Regions from separate parts of the Homo sapiens genome. Here regions 2, 3 and 4 are each linked to region 1. Evidence: promoter capture Hi-C in 16 types of primary human blood cells and fetal thymus (Javierre and others, 2016). All regions are on one chromosome and are shown on one strand. Each heading gives the region's core, a stretch centred on a gene start or on the middle of the fragment in contact. The rest is flanking DNA. Distances are from core to core; before and after follow the strand shown.

Region 1 (3,202 bases), core at 340-2,839:
CAAGAGTCTCCCTTCCACAATCACTCAGCATAATTAGATTTACTGAGCTAGAAAGGTCCTGAAAGGAGGTTTTATTCAATTCTTATGAGATAGATATATCACTGTAAACTAACTTCTACTTTTCTTATCCCAGCCTGGCCAATATGGTAAAACCTTGTCTCTACTGAAAATAGAAAAGTTAGCTGGGTGTCGTGGCAGGTGTCTATAATCCCAGCTACTCAGGAGGCTGAGGCAGGAGAATTGCTTGAACCCAGGAGGCAGAGGTTGCAGTGAGCCGAGATTGCACCACTGCCCTCCAGCCTGGTGACAGAGAGACTCTGTCTCAAATAATAATAATAATAATAATAATAATAATAATAATAATAATAATAATTTTTTTATTAAACATTTGGTATTAAGTAAAAGATCACCTACTTAAGTATAAATCATTCATACAGCATTCTTTTGTTTCTTTTAATATTTTGCTTTTTTGAGGCAGATTCTCGCTCTATCACCCAGGCTGGAGTGCAGTGGTGTGATCTCGGCTCACTGCAACTTCTGCCTTCCGGGTTCAAGTGGCCCTCCTGCTTCAGCCTCCCAAGTAGTTGGGATTACAGGTGCCTGCCATGACACACAGCTAATTTTTGTATGTTTCGTAGAGAAAGGGTTTCATCATGTTCTCCAGGCTGGTCTCAAACTCCTGGCCGAAGTTATCAGCCCGCCTTGGCCTCCCAAAGTGCTGGGATTACAGGCATGAGCCATGGCACCCGGCCACATTTGTGTCTATAGCTTTGTTTCATTGTAAGTATTCTAGGCCAGGCACGGTGGCTCACGCCTGTAATCCCAGCACTTTGGGAGGCCGAGTCGGGCGGATCATGAGGTCAGGAGATCGAGACCATTCTGGTTAACATGGTGAAACCCCGTCTCGTCTCTACTAAAAATACAAAAAAACTTAGCCGGGCGTGGTGGTGGGCGCCAGTATTCCCAGCTACTCGGGAGGCTGAGGCAGGAGAATGGCATGAACCCAGGAGGCAGAGTTTGCAGTGAGCCGAGATTGCGCCACTGCACTCCAGCCTGGGTGACAGAGCAAGACTCCGTCTCAAAAAAAAAAAAAAAAAAAGTATTCTATGCTTTTGCATGTGTGCTTGTTTTTACTCTAACCTTAGGTTTTATTTTCCTGAGTGACAAGACTTATTTCTCAATCACATCACTCCTTAACCAAAGAGAGAGAGAGAGAGAGAAAGAGAGAGAAAGAAGGAACAAAGAAAAGGCAAGAAAGAAAGAAACCTATACATTTGCTTTTTTAAAATTTGGTTTTAAAAAAATGTCTTTCTCAGTTATCTATTTCAATGGGAAGTGAAGTCAGGGAGGAGGAAGATGTCACTGATAACACCTGAAAATTCTAATCTTCCGACTTGATTTCTCATCTTCAAGTCTGTTTTCTCCAAAGATGAGATGGCTTTCCTGTTCACTTGGCAACCTCTCAGTCTTACCCCAATGCTTAGGGATATAAATGACCCAGAACCAGGAGAGTTGATTATCAACATAGTGAAGGGGAGGGTTTCAAAGAGCAAGAAGGGGTTGTTAGTCACACGGAGAGAGAAGAAAGGAGATTAGCAGGGTGACTTTCACCCTGCAACAGTCACGCTGGAGTACTCTGGTGAAGGATCAAGAATATTACCAGTTTTCTGATGAAGAAAGGAATATATTTGGTCACCAGCAATCTGCCTTTGACCATCCTCAAAGCCAAGTTTTTCATCGCTGTCTAGAAAAATACTTCATTCAGAGGACACATATGTCCTCTTTGAATGTCTCCTTTTTGGGAGCAGTAGGAGAAAGAAACTTCAAGATGTAGAAAGAATTAATAGTGTAACGGAAAGAAAGAAGGCAAAAGGAAGTAAATGTGGAGGCCATAGAAATAGTAATAAGAATAAAGAAGAAAAACAGGAAAGAAGAGGGAAAAGCCATAGAAAATAACAGCCAGAGCGAGTAGGAGGAGACAGAGAGAACGAGAGAGAGAAAAGCTGATAAATTCCTGAGAAAAGTTTCTCTTCTTAAGAATTCTAGGTCAAGAAGTAAAATATGGCACAGAGCATTGAAAGGAGGCAACGGATGCCCAGTGCAAGATTCTGAAGAAGCAGGAATTCAGCCCGATGGGAGTCCGAGTTCATGTCGTGGCGGCCTCAGCCCTGCTGTATTTCATCCTGGTGAGTTCAGTGGTGAAAAGGCAGAAAGAGTATTTTTCCCCAGATTAATCAACTCTCAGAAGAGTCTGAAAGGAAATGAACTGCGGGGTGGGGAGACATATACAGAACCCAGGGGGTCATAGGGAAATGAATAAACTACAAAGTTTCCTTAGTATTACGAGATTGCATAGATGCATGTGTGACTGATGGCAATGACAATGAAAAGGGGGACAGAAATTAGAGTGAGCATGGAAACGAGCAGGATTGCCGTGGCACTTTAGAAGTGCCGCTGAAGTATTTTATCTCTTTTAGCATCTTATCACCCATCCCTCAAAATTCCAAACAAATTATGAAAACTAGGTGTGTAATTCCCCTAAACGGAATTTCCCATCCAGGAATTTCTAATCCTGTTCTAGCAGTTTAGGTGCCTCTAGTCTAGAAATAAGAGAGGCAGGGCTCTTTTAAAATATTTTGGGCCCCACAATGAATCAGAAGTCTCTGAGTAATCCATTAGTGGAGAAAAGGGTCACTGGACTGAGGGATTCTAAACAATTGTCACAGGGAAGTTTATAGAGCTATGCCATCTAGCAAGAAGGAGAGCAAATGAAGAAAACTGGATAGTCTCAGATTCCCGTATGGCCCCCGTACAGAGTGGGCTGTATGGTTTGTTTTTTTTTTTTTTTTGCTAATAGAACAGTTAAAGTGGTATCTGAAAATCCATTTTTTCTTATATTTTCTTTTTGCTTCCTCTTCACTCCCTTTGCCTTGTCTTCCCTTCATTTTTCCTTTCTTTTCTCTTTGCAACAAGCCTGAAAAGTAGCATTTTCTCTGCTGAGCACTTTAGGCTTCTCTTACCTTTAGTGAAGAAAGTGAAAGAAAGTACCATGGTTGCGTAGAGGAAACACACGCTTTTTCATCGTTAGTGGCCATTTCTTTCCAATGAAAACACAAACACGGGTTTCTCAAATGTTACCTGCAAAGGCTGGCCATTAATCCTTTTACAGATCCTTTCCAACTGATAGGTCTTGAGAATGTGT
Region 2 (3,247 bases), core at 487-2,986, 540 kb before region 1:
TTTTTTTTTTTTTTTTTTTTTTTGAGAGAGTCTCACTCTTGTTGTCCAGGCTGGAGTGCAATGGCACAATCTTGGCTCACCGCAACCGCTGCCTCCCGGCTTCAAGCAATTCTCTTGCCTCAGTCTCCCGAGTAGCTGGGACTACAGGCATGTGTCACCATACATGGCCAATTTTGTATTTTTAGTGGAGATGGGGTTTCTCCATGTTTGTCAGGCTGGTCTCAAACTCCCAACCTCAGGTGATCCGCCCGCCTTGGCCTCCCAGAGTGCTGGGATTACAGGTGTGAGCCACCACGCCCGGCCTTCCCCAAGGGACTTTTATTGGCTCTGCAAGTTGAGCTTGACTCCTTAAAGAGAAGCATACCCTTCCAGTCAAAGCCTTGGTAAAACAACCAGTTACTCCAATTGCATCCTGTTGCAAAAGAAAATGGATTTTTACTGCACTGATGCAAACAAGTATATTGCTGTAAGTTAAGAATACTCACAGATAATTTCCAAATTCTACAGGAACCAGGCAGAGAGAAGCAAATATACTCCAAATTTTGTTCACAGGAGTATACTCTACTCAATGATTAAAGGCTATAAATAGTTCAAAATATGTTTTCTTGACTCTAAAAAACAAAACAAGGATCAGCAATATCCAAGCAAAATTGAGAAAGATTGCTTCATTTTTTTGAGTTCACCCAGTTAACCCTTATTTTGCTTGATATTTATGAACATTTTAGCTCTTCATGAGTTCTGTACATTTTTCCTTTATTCCAATGTCACAATCCCCAAAGGTATGAGAAACCTGTATCTGAGAGCACTTGTAAAAGTTCTCTAGCTTATTATAAACCATCTTTTGAAAAAGATTAAAACAACAATTGTCTGTGAATAACAATATGTCCAGGGTAGTTACAGTTAGAAACACAATTGACAAAGTTTTGTTATCTCTGTAGTTTACAATAACTTAACAACTTTAATTATGATTGATAGGATATTCTTTAGACATTAGAATTTTAGAAATTCCATACAATTTTGGAACACATATTAGTATTATTCACCAAAATATGACCTAAAGAAGACTGAATACCATTTTGGCAATCCCATGTACCTAAACGTGTCACATAATCCTGTTTACCTTTCTTTTCTGAACACTCCAGGGGCCCTCTGAAGTATCTGAAAAGCCAGGTGTCAGAAAAGACAATTTTGAAACTGAAGTTTGATTTTGGAAAGCCTATTAAATATATTAGAGGCTTAAAATACTTGCTGTTATGAAATAGAATTCCGGATTACCATAAGTTATTTATTTTGCTGAAATAACAACTAAGAAATTTTTTTAAAGAAAAAACCTTGTACAGCCCTTTCATACAAATTTTGCTGACGAGCAGATTAGTGCCTTAAGGATACCTTGCTGTGCTTTTATTTGAATGCTCAATTTACAGAAAAATCATACAATACTTTTTGAAGTTAGTCAATATGTTCACACAGAGAATTTGTTGCAAGATTAATTTTTACAATCCTTCCACCAGTTGTTTGAACTTTTAGCTTTATCTTATCTAATTTAAAACAAATCTTCAACCCTAGGCAGGAATTTACATTTTTATGATTTCTTATAATCTTTATTAAAAACACATTTCACTGTCCTTATGCACCTTGCATGTAAATCTATTTCCAATAGTCTCAATTACATGTCATAATGGTAACTTTTAGCAGTTTTTAACTTTAATGTAAAACCTGGTAAGTTGTTTTGATTATGTGCTAGATGCAGCCAAGGTTTGACTCCTTCCAACATAATTAAGGGAGTGTTTAGTTCCATGTGTCCCCAGGCCTTGCCAATTGTGAAGCCAGCAAATTGAAAAGTTCTCAAAAACCAAAAAAGCAGTTTATGACCTTAAAATATTTTGCCAACCTAGTATCTGACCTGCATAATTTAGTCCACCTATTTACATTTTTATGACATCTGCTTTTTACCAATAATCTTTAAGGCTGTTTTTATTTCTCCAAGATTAAAGTCACGTGAACTGAAAGGTACCACAGCTTTTTATCTTCTCTTTCATAAAATATTTGATCCAAGTGCTTGTCTTCCTTTAGGCAAAATTAATTAGAGCTCTTTTTTTTATGTAAACATCACACACACAACACATATAGAATTACACAGACAGGTAGAAGATAACCCGGTCCCCATAAGATCTTTCATTTGCCAATCTCCTAATTGGATTATTGGCCTCTGGGTGCTTTTAATTTCTGGAGTCCATGAGAAAAAAAAGAGGTCTCTCCTCTCTTGTGCGTGCATTAAAAAAGTGGCAAAGCAAAATGAAGAAAAAATAATTCAGTTGACCAAGAAAAACCTTTTCCCAGCAAAACAAGGTCCAAGAAAAGGGAAACCTTTTAAATATGACTCTAACTTGGATATCCACTTTTAGTTAAGCTGAGCACTCCTTAAGAAATTCCTCTTAACTCCCTTATTATCTGAATTTAGCCACACCAAGTGGCCAATATTTCTGGCTTTCAAACTTTACTAAAGGCTCAGAGAAAGGAAAATCCAAGGCAGTTCATGGAGAGAAATGGAATCAACAAATAGCAAAAGGTCATGCAGATATCAAACCAGGTAAGACTCATTCCCTAAGCCAGGATTGAATCCAAGCTACACAGAGGCTACACAAAACCTTGCCAAGTGGTTACAGGTCTTGCTCCCAAGGATGTTAAACAAGATGGAGGTCCTCAGCAAATTTGCTATGGACCATACAGAAAGACATGCAAAGCAGACCAGATTGGCTACAGCTTCAGATCAGCCTCACAAATCGTCTCTCGCAATTAAAACACTACAGAGAGCCCTCTGCTCAGTCCTGCAGCTGCCCACTGCCCTCCTACTGTCCACCGTGGCCCTGCTGCACTCTGGCTGCGTCCTCTCTGGGATCGCTGCCACCTTCCACCTGGGCCTCGCAGCTGCGGCCTCTGCCAGAGCCAGCTCCTGATGGACCCATGTGGAAATGGGACCTCCAGATATCATCCTGGCAGTCATTGAAGACTTTAAGAGGGACACCAATAGCAAAAAGATGAATCTGGGAGTTGGTGCCTACCGGGATGATAACGGAAAGCCTTGGACGTGCTGCCTAGCGTCCCCAAGGCAGAGGCCCAGATTGCCACAAAAAGTTTGGACAAGGAATACCTGTCCACTGGGGGACTGGCTGAATTTTGCAAGGCATCTGCAGAACTAGCCCTTGGTGAGAACAGCGAAGTCTTGAAAAGTGGCCGGTTTGTCATT
Region 3 (3,075 bases), core at 141-2,640, 560 kb after region 1:
GTCCCTAGTGATATGTGTCTAGCAGACCATGGTGAGACTGTTTGAAAGTTACTACACAATTACACATATAAGATTGTCCAGCAGAAGATAAAGAAATTAAATGAGGGTAAATACAATCCTGTTCTGGTGTTTAGCATTACCTGGAGAGTACTTTTTGGGGGCCTGACTATAAGACCATCATTTCAGAATGGACTGTTAAAAATTAAACTTCTGCTCTAAGGTGGTGGCGTTATGTTTTCAGAATCCTGGGCACAAGGCAAACATCATTTCCTCAAACTTGGACATGCCATCTGACACATGGTTTAACATGATGGGACAGATGACAGAACCTGGAAATGCCACTTAGATTAAGTTGGAGATGATTACCTACCAGAAACCGAGAGTGTTTTTAGGAGACACAATTTCCATCCCAAGAGAGAAGACATTTCTATCTTGATTAAGGCTCAATAATGAGGTTGCAGGTAGCTGAGAAAGGAAGATGACCTCTGGAACTTCTGGGGATGTCAACCTCAGGAAGCCACTACTGCTCTCAAGTCATGTGTTTCTGAGACTAGTTCAAGATACTTGACAGCTGGTTCTGGGTTCTTAAAACCAGAGAAGATTGTAGGTAAACATCCCAAATGTTGCCAGAAAGCTCGGGGAAGCTGACTATATTCATAGTAAGGTTAGCTGGCCCATTCAGCCCTGGTATGGGCAGGAGCAAAGCTGAGCGTCCTTCTGTCTGCAAAGCCTAATCTGACTGTACTCAATCCCTTTGCCAAACTTCTCTCAACTAGTGAATCTGGTAAAAGAAACTGTTTCCTTCCATAGCAGGAGACAGGGTGCAGGCAAATAGATCCTTTTCTGTGGATTGGCCCAAGGCCCAGGAGAGAGTTGATGGGGAATTAAGGTGGCAATTAAAATGTCTGAATGCTACTTTTCAAAGTTTTAGGTAACTGGGGCCCCTGCATATCCACACTGGATACGCTTCTCTCGTTCTCACCAGAGAATCAACTTCTGTGAATGCTTGGATGCTGCTGGTACCCCCACTGAATTGTCACAGACTTTAACCTACCATTAATGTGGTGGCCTGAGGCACCTGGAGAGAGCCTGGGACCTCAAAGAGACTGGCCCCATAGCGACACTAGCTCTACCAGTATCATTTTGAAATTTTAGCACCGAAAGTCCCACATCCTGGGAAATGCCTTAGTCCCAGGCAAAATGGATGACTGGATAATGGAGATTTGAAGTCATATGTCCTGGGTTTCAGTTTTACAAGCTGTGCAACTTTGGAAAAATTTCCATTTCTTTTCTTCAGTTTCTTCATCAGTAAAATGAAATAATAATGATAGTACCTCTTGCCGAGCATGGTGCCTTATGCCTGTAATTTCAATACTTTGGGAGGCTGAGGTGGGAGGATCACTTGAAGCCAAGAAATTTGAGAGCAGCCTGGGCAACATAATAGAACCCTGACTCTACAAAATAAAGAAGAAAAGAAATTCGCTGTGCAGTGACGCACATCTGTAGTCCTAGCTACTCGGGAGGCTGAGGCAGGAAGATCACTTGAGCCTAGGAGTTCAAGGCTGCAGTGAGCTTTGATGGCACCACTAGACTCCAGTGTCAGTGACAGAGCAAGACCCCAGCTCTTAAAAAATAGTAAGGTTGTTGTGATAATTAAATGAGACAAAGTGCATAAAGTGCTTAGAATAATACTTGTCACAACCAAAATACCCAGTAAATGTGTGCTTATCCTCATCATCAGAAGGGACACATTTATAAGATAGGTGTTTAGAGTTTAGGGGTGTGCAATCACCCTTCTTTTATTGTGCTTTTGAGGAAAATTTATGTGCTCACAACTAACCACACAATTAGTGCTTTGATGAAAAAGCTGAGTGTGTTTTGGGGTTCTTTAAGAGGGGGAGTTCCAGTGGGGCCACTCTTGTCTCAGTAGAAGCCACATGCAATTGACACCTCTTTTGCTTGACTCACACACTGTGCTTAGGAACTGGGAAAAGTGAACCAGCTCTTACCAGGTACTTTCTCTCTTACAGAGAACTGGTTGTGCTTGGGAAAGATTTTTAGACAATAATAAACTGGAAATTTGAGAGAGGAAAGTACAGTCTAAACCTTCACCTGGTAATGGATGAAGAGCAAGGAGAGTGGGACCACCCTCTCATTCTTTTCCCAAACATGGATGGATGTGAGCAGGGGACTATGACCCAAGGGTCAGGGGGAAAGGAGAAATGGAATGGCTTCAAGGATGAAGAGGCTTGACTGAAGATTTGGTTTGAATGAGTAACTCACTGTTTCCCACCAATTAAAAAAACCTCATATCTCTGTGTAAGCCCCACATGGCTACTCCATTATCTGAGACTCCAAGTTCTCTGAGACTAATAAAGACTCTGAGTAGCCCTCTCAATAAGTGGATTTGGAACTGTTCTGGAAGAAAGAAAAATTTCCAAGAAGACTCAGTTTCTGAAAGGCACAGGCAAGAAATGTCCCCTGTGCTCAGCTCACATATTCAGCTCTTGAGGAACTCGGGGAACTTATCGCCCCTCCATCCAGCCACTGATTTTTCTGATGGTTCCTGTCTTTGAAACATCTCTCATTCAGGCTAAAAAAAATGGTTTCTTTTTGTATGCTGTGAAGAGGACAACAAAATAGGTGTAAATTTTCTTTATAGAGATATGTGAATTGATTATGAAAATGGGGTAGAACAACACTGAAATATAATATTAAATTATATCTTTTTGTCAGCCTGGTTGAGTGACAGGTTGGATTTGATTTAATTTCATTTAAAGAAAATAAAATAATTTGACAATTCATGGATATCTCATTTTGTAAAGATTCATGTCCTCATTATTTTCTTGAAACCATATCAAGTTCTGTAATAAGTGTAGATGTCTTGGTGACAGTTAATTTAGTATCTACCACGTGTTAAGCCCCACACTACAGAGCTAATTCTAACTAGTTAATATGTACACCCAGCCAGCTGATCACAAGAAGATTAGTTTACAGGTCATGAGTCATCAGTGTAACTCCAAAAATTTGCCTTTCTTATGTGCATATCTTAAAAAAGAGACAGGTATTAACAGT
Region 4 (3,098 bases), core at 521-3,020, 530 kb after region 1:
TTTATGCTGCAGGCATCTCTTTTGCTAAATCCTTTATATTTAATCATCATAACCCTATGGTGCAGGCATTTAATGCCCCCACTTAATGGATGAACTTAATCTAAAACTTGGTTTTCTCAAAACCTCACAAATAAGTAGCAGAAACAGGATTCAAATCCAGCCTGACTTCAGAGTCCAAGCTCTTACACATTCCACCTGTCTTGTTACCTTAATTCTTTTGTTCTTCTATCAACTAGAAACTTTGGCCATAAGGGTTCCCTATTATAGGCATGGATCACGTGGTTTTGCTTTTAGAAGTGTTACCGGAATGACTGCTTTGAAAAAACAGACTGAAGGCCTTGCCTCAGCTTTTGTAGCATCAGGAAGCCATAAGCAAGGTTTCTGGCAGCTGATGTTGGAGGAGGAGGAGGAAGAGGAGGCAGAGAAGGACGGAAGGGTGAGGATTGCTGAAGAGAAGTCTCAGTTGCAATTTTACCTGTATTCTGTTGGGATGGGGTAAGACCCGTGAGCGACGGTCAAAGGTCTGTCCCACGTGGTAAGGCGGGAACCGCCGCTGCCGGTACTGAGGGCGATACTGGGGGCGGCGCAGCTGATTCCGGGCCCCAGAGAACTGCCTATCAGTGGCAGGGGGGTCAAATCCTTCACTGCTGCCGCTCCCTTCCTCCTCCTCCTCCCCAGCGTACTAGCGAAGCAAAGAAACAGAGATTCAGAAGAAGTTTTAGCAAGGAAAGAACCAAAGAACACCATTTAGGATGAATATCACCAAAATAAAATCTCCCCAAAGCAATATAATCCTTTCCATTATACAGACAAAATGCATTTAACCCAGATTATCATGTGATTGCCTGGGATAAACTACATTAAGATTAGAGTAGATCTGTGCAGATAAAATACCAAGAAGCAGAAAAGCAAGAGCAATCAATCTACAATCAATTTAATAGTCATCTCATTAGAACTCGTATCAGCTAACCAACCACCCGAAGAGTATCTGCAAGGTTTATAATTTTTGCTCCATCAAATGCGTGTCTCCCAGCATTTACCATCCACTGAGGCAATGTCAGGGAAAAGCCAAAAAAGAATACATTTTATGATGTTACCAACATATTTGACCCAAGTGGTATTCTTCCTACAAGTCTGTAAAGTGTGGATGGGATTTCTGAAAACTTCCAGGGGGTCAGCGAGGTCAAACTATTGCCATAATATTACTAAGATGCTATTTGCCTTTCCCAGGCATTCTCTCAGAAGTATATGGTGGGGTCTCCCAAAGGCTACAATGACATGTGGTCTCTCAGCAGACTGAATGCAGAAACAGATGTGAGAATCCAGCTATCTTCTATTAAACCATACATCAGAGATCTGCAAAAGTATAAAGCAATACCACTCTTTTCAATTTAAATATTTTTTTTCCATAAAAACTGTTATTTTCATGAACATATAGTTATTTTTAATCAATTAACATTTTAAGTTTATTTTACTTTCTAATATAATATTAATATAAATAAACATTGACAAAAACTCTAGAATCCTCAATAACATGTAAGCATATAAACAGATCCCAAAATCAGGAAGTTTGAGAACCACTGACCTAAGGCATGACTCCCTTTATATGTTTAGGAGTAAAGCTTTAATCATACTTTGATGGTAGTAAGCCCTAATCCTGGAGGTTTCTAAATAATAGATCTTATTAATATTCACAAAGGAATTTACCGATTCATTTTATATTTTTCTTCTATTTAAATTATATCATATACTACCATTTTACATTTTAAAAAACCAAACATCCTACAAAGACTGTGATTTCAAGTCTTACTTTAAAGGGGATATGCAAATGTCTTTAATGGGAAGTAACTAGTTTTTAAAAATGAATAAATAAAAAAAGCAAAATAATGACCCATTACTTTTTTTTACAGGAGTGTATTTAAGCTTTGGACCCTTCCAGAACAAGTCCACATGTGCAACCAAACTCCCCCTCCAAAAAAGCCTCAACTAGTCTAACTTCAAAAAAAATCAAGTCATTCTACTCTTCATAAAACCTCTACCAAAGATGAGATTCACAATTATGTAAACGTTTATTTGCACAGAAAATGCTTACCAAAATATTAAGTGTGAGACAACATAAACTGTTTTTCTTCTTGGGCTTATCTTCCTCTTTTGCATTTCACACAATCAAATCTTTAAGAGTTTTACAAAGCATAATAATGGCACCAGCAATGCTGAACACACTCTTTTGAGAGATACTGAACAAGTTGTTGGGACTTAGATATTACAACAAAAAAGCTCATTTATGTATACTTTAAGAGTTTTAACAATTTTGTTTCTTAAGCGTTTTAACAATTTTGTTTCTAAATATCTTTTATATGCATGACTTTGGAATTTTCAGGTTTTGGACAGGAAAAGTCTTTAAGAAAAATTTTTCACTGAATGTTTTTCTACCACTTTTGCTTTTGAATTAACCTGGGAGTCAAAATAATCACAGTTAGCGCTCTGTGACTCTGATGAACTTCAAAGAGAACATGATGTAGGAAATGCTACAGCAGCTCATTCCTAGCTATCCCCCTCATAGCTTATTAAAAACCAAATAAGATAAGCAAAAACAAAGAAACAAGTGGGAAGTCCTAAGGAATCTGACAGAATTAATTTGGGCAGGATGTGATGATGGCAGAATAAGGAGGAAAAGCATTTAGGTAAACAGAAAGATATAAAGCTATCAAAACATAAAGATAGGTCATTCTCAATCTGCAGATATTTAATTCTGATGAGTTTTTCTTTGGATGAGACAGGCAGTCACAATCCTGTGCTGACAAACATTCGGAGTTTTCTTCAATGTGCCAATACCTGGTTCTAATTCTAGAAACACCAAGAATGATTCAAATCTAGTAAGTTTCTCATGACCACAAATATACTGGGTCCGTTTTGGGTGCCTTGAGAATACTCCTATAAACTGAGCCTCCCAAGAAAGCTCCAGCCAGATTTGTGACAAACTCTTTCCCCTGCATTGAAACCAACCTAAAGAACTAAAAATCCACAGAATCACTTATTGCTTCTTTACTTTGAAATAATGGAAAAATGCTATGCTAAATAAAACAGCCTCTTAACCA

The links. The method cuts DNA at HindIII sites, captures the fragments that hold promoters and counts their contacts. A CHiCAGO score of 5 or more calls a contact.
Region 2: a contact is called between a fragment that was not itself captured here and the fragment with the promoter of TMEM52B in region 1, in 1 of 17 cell types (neutrophils). The highest score is 5.2, in neutrophils.
Region 3: a contact is called between a fragment that was not itself captured here and the fragment with the promoter of TMEM52B in region 1, in 2 of 17 cell types (naive CD8 T cells and total CD8 T cells). The highest score is 6.3, in naive CD8 T cells.
Region 4: a contact is called between a fragment that was not itself captured here and the fragment with the promoter of TMEM52B in region 1, in 1 of 17 cell types (naive CD8 T cells). The highest score is 5.6, in naive CD8 T cells.

The regions. Positions count from the first base shown.
Region 1 is chr12:10,177,443-10,180,644 of GRCh38, forward strand. It overlaps TMEM52B (transmembrane protein 52B), which reads left to right and starts at 1,590. Exons shown (of 5, transcript NM_001384896.1): 1 at 1,590-2,186. The coding sequence starts at 2,133. RefSeq lists an enhancer at 1,948-3,147. The HindIII fragment of the contact is 29,503 bases long and covers 1-3,202 here.
Region 2 is chr12:9,638,857-9,642,103 of GRCh38, forward strand. It overlaps the pseudogene LOC374443 and the pseudogene GOT2P3. Among named protein-coding and RNA genes, the nearest start is that of CLEC2D, 29 kb to the right of the region's middle. The HindIII fragment of the contact is 5,494 bases long and covers 1-3,247 here.
Region 3 is chr12:10,733,671-10,736,745 of GRCh38, forward strand. The region is part of intron 1 of LOC112268104 (a long non-coding RNA gene); the gene reads right to left. Among named protein-coding and RNA genes, the nearest start is that of YBX3, 12 kb to the left of the region's middle. The HindIII fragment of the contact is 3,643 bases long and covers 1-3,075 here.
Region 4 is chr12:10,709,433-10,712,530 of GRCh38, forward strand. YBX3 (Y-box binding protein 3) reads right to left here. Exons shown (of 10, transcript NM_003651.5): 6 at 476-682. Among named protein-coding and RNA genes, the nearest start is that of YBX3, 12 kb to the right of the region's middle. The HindIII fragment of the contact is 301 bases long and covers 1,621-1,921 here.